Regions from separate parts of the Homo sapiens genome. Here region 1 is linked to region 2. The links are contacts of gene promoters, found by promoter capture Hi-C in human tissues and cell types (Jung and others, 2019). All regions are on one chromosome and are shown on one strand. The core of a region is centred on a gene start or on the middle of the fragment in contact, and the rest is flanking DNA. Distances in the headings are between cores, read along the strand shown.

The links. The method cuts DNA at HindIII sites, captures the fragments that hold promoters and counts their contacts. A contact is called where the count stands out against the background at its distance.
Region 1: a contact is called between a fragment that was not itself captured here and the fragment with the promoter of DERL3 in region 2, in 1 of the 25 tissues and cell types used here (aorta).

Annotation. Positions count from the first base shown.
Region 1 is chr22:23,872,996-23,877,598 of GRCh38, reverse strand. SLC2A11 (solute carrier family 2 member 11) reads right to left here. Exons shown (of 12, transcript NM_001024939.4): 4 at 2,358-2,482; 5 at 428-557. Among named protein-coding and RNA genes, the nearest start is that of SLC2A11, 17 kb to the right of the region's middle. The HindIII fragment of the contact is 4,221 bases long and covers 234-4,454 here.
Region 2 is chr22:23,836,360-23,840,790 of GRCh38, reverse strand. It overlaps DERL3 (derlin 3), which reads left to right and starts at 1,785. Exons shown (of 7, transcript NM_001002862.3): 1 at 1,785-1,896; 2 at 2,015-2,080; 3 at 2,154-2,227; 4 at 2,346-2,439; 5 at 2,937-3,132; 6 at 3,637-3,727; 7 at 3,829-4,431. The coding sequence starts at 1,804. The coding sequence ends at 3,922. It overlaps SMARCB1 (SWI/SNF related BAF chromatin remodeling complex subunit B1), which reads right to left. Exons shown (of 9, transcript NM_003073.5): 9 at 2,782-4,431. RefSeq lists a silencer at 1,560-1,862. The HindIII fragment of the contact is 8,930 bases long and covers 1-4,431 here.

The DNA.
Region 1 (4,603 bases), core at 1,095-3,594, 36 kb before region 2:
CCAAGTCTGGGTCTGAACATCAAGATCCCTCCCACCCAGGTTGGGACCAAGAGAGGACAGGGCCACTGCCCCACCTCATCCCTAGCAACTCCTCTTCCCAAGGGTCCAGGCTCTGCCTTCTCCTCTTTTTTCTGGAATGACTGGAACACGTTTGTCTTTGAAAGCCCAAATCTTCACCCTCTCCTCTGTGAAGACCTGTTCTTTGCTCCCTGACCTGGAGAGGATGGGAAAAGGTGATTCACATTGCAGTGTGTTGACTGATACCCATTTCGTGAATTGGCAGCAGAGATGTGGATAGAGGATTCGATGCCTTCATGCAAAGCAATAATGCTTTAATCTACTAGTGGGTAGGGGAGACATTTAGGTGAAGAAACGCTTTTACTGGTATCTCCGAAATACTCAATGCATGTGGGGGAGGGGTGCTTACCTGAGTCCGACCACCTGTCCCATCACGATCCCCAGAGCCGTAAAGATGGCTGAGCTCATGGCCACAGCTCCTCGGAGCTCCTTAGGGGCGCTCTCCCCCAGGTACATGGGCTGGATGTTCATGCTCACACCTGGACGTGTGCACAGCAGAGGCACGTCAGCCACCAGCTGGGACCCCCACTCCACGACACCCAGCCTGTCTCCCCTGCCCCACTCAGCACTGTCCAGCCACTCAACTGGATCCTGGCACTGAGGGCTGATCCCTCACCCCCCACACTCAGGGGTTCTGCTTCACCTGATGAAGGGCCAACAGGATCCCAACTCTACTCTTCAGAACTTCTGAGGGAGGGCTTTCTCAGATCCGCTCCCATCCTGGTCCCTGGCCACAGTACCACATGTTCATGGGCTCTTCCTAGGTCCCATCACTGGGACCCGAGTGTGAAGGACTCTGACGGGGCTGTGCGGGGGGGTGGGAGGAGGAAGGTAGGACCACATCCTGGATGCCTACCAGCTGTCCCAGCACTCATGTCAATTCCTTCATTGATCACTACAGCTGCTCTCACCTCACCCTGGCTCCCCCAGGGAAGACCCTGGCACCTACACTGCCCTCAGGAAAACAGAGAGCTGGAGAGCACCCCAGCGCCCTCCCAGAGGGTGACAAATGGCAAAAGCTAAGAGGCCACTGTGTTGTGGTGTCACGCCCCTGGGAATGCAGTATGCCCTCCCTGACCTAGGGGTTCTCCCATCAAGGTCCTGCCCCTCTATCTACGAGTTGGGCAAAGATAACTGGAAGGAAGGCAGCTATGCTGATTGCCAAGGAGTCTCGGAGGTGCCCCTGCTCTTCCTACAAACATTTAGCTGGGGATTCCTTCTCTGATGGGTACTTGGGACATGAAGACAAAGTCTGACCTGGTTCCTTTCCCCTGGATCGTGGGCTACTCTTAGTAACTCACTTCTAATGAGCAGAATAATGGTGTATGACCTCTGGAATTAGGACATAAAAAGCACCTGGACTTCTCCTTGTGCATGCCCTCTCTCTGTCTCCCTGTCTCCCTCTCTCTCCCTCCCCTCCTCACCCCCTCAGATCACTCTGGAAGAAGCCAGCTGCCATGTTGTGAAGATCCTCAAGCAGCTCTGTGGAGAGCCCCCCAAAGTGGGCAGCTGAGACCTCCTGCCAATGGCACGTGAGGGAGCATCTTGGAAGTGGATCCTCCAGCCCCAGCCAACCCTTCTGATGTCTGCAGCCCTGACAGCTTGAGCACAGCCCCGTCAGAGACCCCAAGCCAGAGCCACCTACCTAAGACATTCCTGGGTTCCTGGCCCACAGAAACTGTGAGATTATAAATGTTGATTATTTTAAGTCACTTAATTTTGGGGTTATTTGTTTCACACAAATAGATAACTAATATAGATAGCATCATATAGATAACATCACCACTGGGCTGTATAAACAGTAGGGCGTCAAGAGATGACTTGTTGGTTGGAGCCCCTAAAAACCCAGGTGGATGTGCTCAAAATTCTGCTCTCTCACATGAAAAGCCCCAGAAATCGAGGAGTACCTAACAGGCCATTCTGCTTCTGAGAGAAGATCAGAAAACTCATCCTATATCCCTTTACACGTTGGCTACCAGGAAGCTCATGGCTTAGAGTGTTACTCAAACATGGGACCTGTATTAGTGTTAAGTTTGGAGATGCTTATTCCCCCACCCCTACACAACTTTTCCATTGTTCTGTACCTACTTTAAATATCTAGTTATATGAGCCCTTTAAGATAAACTATACTACATCCTTTTGTGACAAAGGTAGGCATAAATAAAAAATAAATGAATGAATAAAGGGAGGAAATGAAGGAAGAAATGAAATAAAAGGAATTAATGAATTTATTAATTAATAGGCATAGAGAGGCAGGATGAGAAGCCCCCACCCCATACCTGCATTGACTCCCACGAGCAGTCTTCCCAGCATGATCATCTCAAAGGAGCCTGCTTTGCGGCTGAATCCAAACAGGATTGCTGCTGACACCACAAAGATGTTATTCACCAGGAGGGACTTCTTCCTTGGGGGAAGTGAAACACACAGAAAGAGAGGCTGTGATTCAGTCCAGCGGGACCATCCCTGGGGACCACTCTTTGCAACTGTAACAAGCCTTAATTAGACACACACACAAATGTATGTAGTATGCCATTAACTACTTTGAGTCCTGGTATCCTTGCTGTCAAATGAGATGAGAGCTCCTACACTTACACGTCTGTTGTAACACATAATTTTTAAAATATCTGTAAAAATTGGGCTGGGCATGGTGGCTCATGCCTTTAATCCCAACACTTTGGGAGGTTGAAGCGGGCAGATCACCTGATCCCAGGAGACCAGGCAGGTCAACATGATGAAACCCTATCTCTACAAAAAATACAAAAAAAATTAGGCTGGGCGCGGTGGCTCACGCCTGTAATCCCAGCACTTTGGGATGCTGAGGTGGGTGGATCACCTAAGGTCAGGAGTTTGAGACCAGCTTGACCAACATGGAGAAACCCTGTCTCTACTAAAAAAAATACAAAATTAGCCAGGCATGGTGGCACATGCCTGTAATCCCAGCTACTCGAGACTGAGGCAGGAGAGTCGCTTGAACCCGAGAGGTAGAGGTTGTGGTGAGCCAAGATTGCGCCATTGCACTCCAGCCTGGGCAACAAGAGCAAAATTCCATCTCAAAAAAAAAAAAAAATTAGCCATGCATGATGGCGCACGCCTGTAATTTCAGCTACTCAGGAGGCTGAGGTGGGAGGATTGCTAGAGCCCAAGAGTACGAGGCTGCAGTGAGCCATGATCACGCCACTGCACTCCAGCCTCGGTGACAGAGTGAGACCCTGTCTCAACAGCAACAATGAAGGTACTAATATGTAATTTCTCAGATTCAATAAAACTCCAGGGAGGAAGAACAGGGACTTTAAGAGTGAAGGAAGAGACGTATAGATAGTCAAGTAGAGTTTCCTTATATTTTCCTCCATGTATTACAGAGTCACTTCTCACAACTCAGAATGGCTGTATATCTCAATGCCTTGGTCAATGGGACAGACACCAACCCAAGGAGGGGACATTGGAAATGTCACCTGCTCCATCATGATGAAGCATTAGCTTTGGCTCCTCATATTGAGCTCAGAAGTGCTGCCATACAGATCACCCAGGAGAGCTCACTGTGATCATATAGCTCACTGTACTGAGAGGGAAACTGAAGACCAGAAGTGGCCAGTGTTCTGCTCAAAGTCACCAGCACATTGGTGATAAAATATGAGCCAAAGCTTAGGTCTCTTGTGTCTAGAGAATGAAAAATGACAGTAGATTATAACAAACTCGATCCAGTGGTAACTCCAATTGTAACTAATAATTATAATTACAATAATATACATTTTCCTCACTGGAATTAATAAATCCATTAATAATAATTAAGTACTTCAATCTAGTGAGTGCATTTTGCTCCATTTCAATACACAGACATTGCCAAAAACACTTAGCATTCACCTTGCTGGAACAGTCATATACCTCCTCCGATCTGCCTTAAGTATATAGCAGCAGCTGGGTGCAGCAGCTCACGCCTATAATCCCAGCATTTTTGGAGGCTGAGGTGGGGGGATCACGAGGTCAGAAGTTCGAGACCAGCCTGGCCAACATGGTGAAACCCCATCTCTACTAAAAATACAAAAATTAGCCAGGCATGGTGGCAGGCACCTGTAATCCCAGGTAGTGGGGAGGCTGAGGCAGGAGAATCGCTTGAACCCGTCTAATAAATAAATAATAAATAAATTCAAGGTCTTGCACTGTGCTCCCCCCACCATGCTACACACACGCGTGCACACACACACACACACACACACACACGTGTCTGTAATCAGTAGCTTGAGGGGGCCGAGGCGGGTGGATCACCTGAGGTCAGGGGTTCGGGACCAGCCTGACCAACATAGTGAAACCCCGTCTCTACTAAAAATACAAAATTTAGCAGGGCGTGGTGGCACGTGCCTGTAATCCCAGCTACTCAGGAGGCTGAGGCAGGAGAATCTCTTGAACCCGGGAGGCGGAGGTTGCAGTGAGCCGAGATCATGCCATTGCACTCTAGCCTGGGTGATAGAGCGAGACTCCGTCGCAAAAAAAATAAAAAGGATATAGCAGCTGCCCAGCTGCAGGCCAC
Region 2 (4,431 bases), core at 536-3,035:
TCCCCTCTCATATAAGTGGAACCATACAGTATTTGTCTTTTTGTGACTGGTTTTTTTTTTTTTGAGACGGAGTCTCACTCTGTTGCCCAGGCTGGAGTGCAGTGGTGCAATCTCGGCTCACCACAACCTCCATCTCCCGGATTCAAGCAATTCTCCTGCCTCAGCCTCCCGAATAGCCAGGATTACAGGTGCCCGCCACCACGCCCAGCTAATTTTTGTATTTTTAGTAGAGACGAGGTTTCACCATGTTGGCCAGGCTGGTCTCGAACTCCTGACCTCAGGTGATCCACCCGCCTCGGCCTCCCAAAGTGCTGGGATTACAGGTGTGAGCCACTGCGCCCAGCCTTGTGACTGGTTTATGTTACTGGGTGTAATGTCTTCAAGGGTCATCCATGCTGCATCATGTATCCGAATTTCATTCCTTTAAGGTTGAATGGTATTGCATTGCATGTAGACAGCACATTTCGTCTGTCTCATCGGTGGGTGAACTGATGTGAACCATTGTGAATAATGGGGCCATGAACATGGGTGTATGAACATCTGTTCAAGTCCCTGCTTTTGATTCTTTTGAATGTGTACCCACAAGCAGCATTGCTGGATCATACGGTAATTCTATTTTTAATTTTTTGAGTCATGATCATATTGTTTTTCACAGCGGATGCACCATTTTATATTCCCACCAACGGTGCCCAAGGGTTCCAATTTCCCCATATCCTCGCCAACACTTATTTTGTTTTATTGTTTTGCTTTTCACAGTTACCATCCTGATGGACACAGGGATGCTTGCAAAGTGACAAACTTTAGAGGTATCCCAGGTCACCCCACCTGGCACTGCGGACGCCCACGTGGCCCCACCCCTCACTTGGCAATATTCTCATCAAGTGTCAGCACTAGCTTATTGTATTGACTGCCTCCTGGCTGGACTCTAAGAGACAGTGTCTTTTATTGCATGCTACATCCCCAACATCTAGAACAGTGTCAGGCAAACAGTTGTTTAATAAACGGTGGAAGGAAGGAAGGGAGGGAGGGAGGGAGGGAAGGAGGGAAGGAAGGTGGGTAGGTTGGTTTCTATTTTCCACCAAAATATTGAGGACCTCTCCTGCCTGTCCACTTGCTCTGGTGCGCCTCTCAACCCTCGCGCCCCACCTGGACTCAATCCCGCAGTCCTGCCTCTCCTTCCTTGGGCCCCCGGGGAAGAACCCCGACAGCGGCCGGCACATTTGAGTGGGGCCCTGGACGTTTGGGGAGGTTTGGACACATTCCCGAATGCCTCCCTGCTGTGGGTTAGGTGGGCCTGTCTTGGGCTGGCAGCGAGGACAACGTTGTGGCTAGGTCGTCAGTTAGTGAGCCAGCACGGTCTGAGCCGCCACACTCCGCGCCCCGCCCACGCGCCCCGCCCTTTCCAGTTTTGCCTCGCCTGCTCGGGTCTTCGCTCCTGTAACCCATACGATCTTAGCCCCGCCCCCGTGGTGTCGTGGGTCCACGCTACTGGTCCTCTCCTAGAAAGCCGCGAAATGACCAGTTCCTCATTGGCCACACGTTCTCCCGCGCCACCACCGCAGCCACAACAACCGCCACGTGCTCAACCTTGGCGCCTGCCCATTGGCCACCAGCCTCTACCCGCCCACTCTCCCTTTCCGCCCCTAATTTCCCTCTTCTTCCTTCCATTGGCTGTCGGGCTCAGGGGCTCTCTTTTCAGCCTGGGGCGCGCAGCGCCTCGGATGCGGATTGGCCGAAGGCGGGGCTGGGAGGCGGGTTAAAGAGCGCGTTGCTGGCTGGGCCACGCGTGCTTGAGAAGGTTCAATGGCGTGGCAGGGACTAGCGGCCGAGTTCCTGCAGGTGCCGGCGGTGACGCGGGCTTACACCGCAGCCTGTGTCCTCACCACCGCCGCGGTGGTAAGCGGCCGGGCGGACCGGACGTCGCCTTGGTTACAGCCTCTGGCGGGAGGGGTGAGGGTCGCCATGGTTACGGCGTGGCTCCCGGGCAGCTCTTGACTGGCCCCTGGTTCCACAGCAGCTGGAGCTCCTCAGCCCCTTTCAACTCTACTTCAACCCGCACCTTGTGTTCCGGAAGTTCCAGGTGAGGCCGCCCCGCGCCGCGCACCTGTGGGCCCGACCCACCCACCCCGCACCTGACCGCCCGTCCCCCGTAGGTCTGGAGGCTCGTCACCAACTTCCTCTTCTTCGGGCCCCTGGGATTCAGCTTCTTCTTCAACATGCTCTTCGTGTATCCTGCGCCCTGCGGACACGGGCTGGGTGGAGGGCAGGCCGGCCGGGCTGGGAGAGAGGCCGGGACGGGGAAACTGAGGCCCCGCCTGGTGGCACTTCCTATACCGACGCCGTAGGTTCCGCTACTGCCGCATGCTGGAAGAGGGCTCCTTCCGCGGCCGCACGGCCGACTTCGTCTTCATGTTTCTCTTCGGGGGCGTCCTTATGACCGTATCCTTCCCGCAGGCTCTGGAACCTCGGGCTAGGGCGCCTCGGCGTCCAGCCTGTGTTGGTCCTGGGGCCAACACAGCCATGCCAGAGAGGGACACAGTCGCTGTCTCCAGCTTAGTATGTGTTGAGGGCCCACTCTGTGCTCAGCTGCAGGGGTCAGGGCTAGATCTTCAGTGCTGTATGCAAAATACAAAGCCATGCACAAAAGAGCCAGGTGGGTTGTCAGGGCCACTAGCTGAGCCCTGAATGCGAGTAGCCGGGAGAAACTGGGGCAGGGACAGGCAGTGGTTGGGCCCTGGGATGAGGCTGTAGGTGTGCAGGGCAGATTTCGTGGGACCTGAAGCCCGTGGAGTGTGTCGCCTTTATTGGACTGGCTCATCTTGATGAGGGAATAGCACATAGGGGAGATGAGGGGAAGAATTCCAGGGTCTTGGGAAGTCAGAGGGGCCCTGGGCTTGGGCTGAGGCCTGCACCGGAGCACCTTGACTCTGGCCCAGCTGCTGGGACTCCTGGGCAGCCTGTTCTTCCTGGGCCAGGCCCTCATGGCCATGCTGGTGTACGTGTGGAGCCGCCGCAGCCCTCGGGTGAGGGTCAACTTCTTCGGCCTGCTCACTTTCCAGGCACCGTTCCTGCCTTGGGCGCTCATGGGCTTCTCGCTGCTGCTGGGCAACTCCATCCTCGTGGACCTGCTGGGTGAGCCTCCCGGTACATCTAGTCCGCCCCAGGCTGGCCACTCCCCTCAGGACACGCTGCTTATGCCCTGGGGCCCCTCTCCCATCCTTGCTGGAGTTCTCCTCACACCTGGCTCCATCCCCATCTTCCTGCCCTCCCAGCTGCTGTGCTCTTACAGCCCCTCAAGCCAGCCGGCCCACATAATTTGCATCGTCAGGACGGATCTACTGATGCTTGCACGGTCCTGATGGGAGTGAGGATGGGAGGGTCAGGGTTCCTGCCCCATGGCTCCCACTCCTCCACTATTCTCAGGCCCTCCCCTCCCTGGGTCCTGCCTGCTTCTGGGCCTTTTAAGCTTGTCCTTCACGGCCAACCCGGGGCTGGCACTCTGTGCAAGGCTTTGGGGCACTCATGCTGTGGGGCCTGCAGGGCCACCAGGCTGTGGATGGGGGCCTGGGGCAGGCTCTGCTGGTCTAGGACTCTGGGCTGTGGAGGGTGACCCCACAGTCCGTGGCTGTCTCACAGGGATTGCGGTGGGCCATATCTACTACTTCCTGGAGGACGTCTTCCCCAACCAGCCTGGAGGCAAGAGGCTCCTGCAGACCCCTGGCTTCCTGTGAGTGTTGAGAGCCCTCCCTCCCTCTCCCCACCCTCAGAAGGATCCCCACCGATGGGGACCTGTGCTGGCCTGTGCTCAACACGGGCCCCTCCCCACAGAAAGCTGCTCCTGGATGCCCCTGCAGAAGACCCCAATTACCTGCCCCTCCCTGAGGAACAGCCAGGACCCCATCTGCCACCCCCGCAGCAGTGACCCCCACCCAGGGCCAGGCCTAAGAGGCTTCTGGCAGCTTCCATCCTACCCATGACCCCTACTTGGGGCAGAAAAAACCCATCCTAAAGGCTGGGCCCATGCAAGGGCCCACCTGAATAAACAGAATGAGCTGCAGTCTCTTGGCCCACAGCACTGGCTTCCCCATCTCACCTGGCCACATCCTTCTATGCCTGCCCCGTCCTCACTCAGTGTGGCCTCTCAGCCCAACTGCAGGTGGTAGGATAGGGGTGCCCACAGAGGGCAAAGAAACTGCCCATGGTTGCCTGGCAGAGCTTTGAGCTCACAGGTTGCCAGGCAGAGCTTTTGAGCTCACAGGTGACAGGCTCAGGGTTCTCATCCTGGCCCCACCAGGGCCTTGGGCAAGTCCTGCCCACCATAGGCCTCTGCTACCTGCCAGTCAGCGGGGAAGTTCACCAGATTTCGGCTGCTGGGGCCAGGACAGGCGTCTCCTAGGTTGTGCCAAACCAGCCTACAGATGTTCCTGCCAG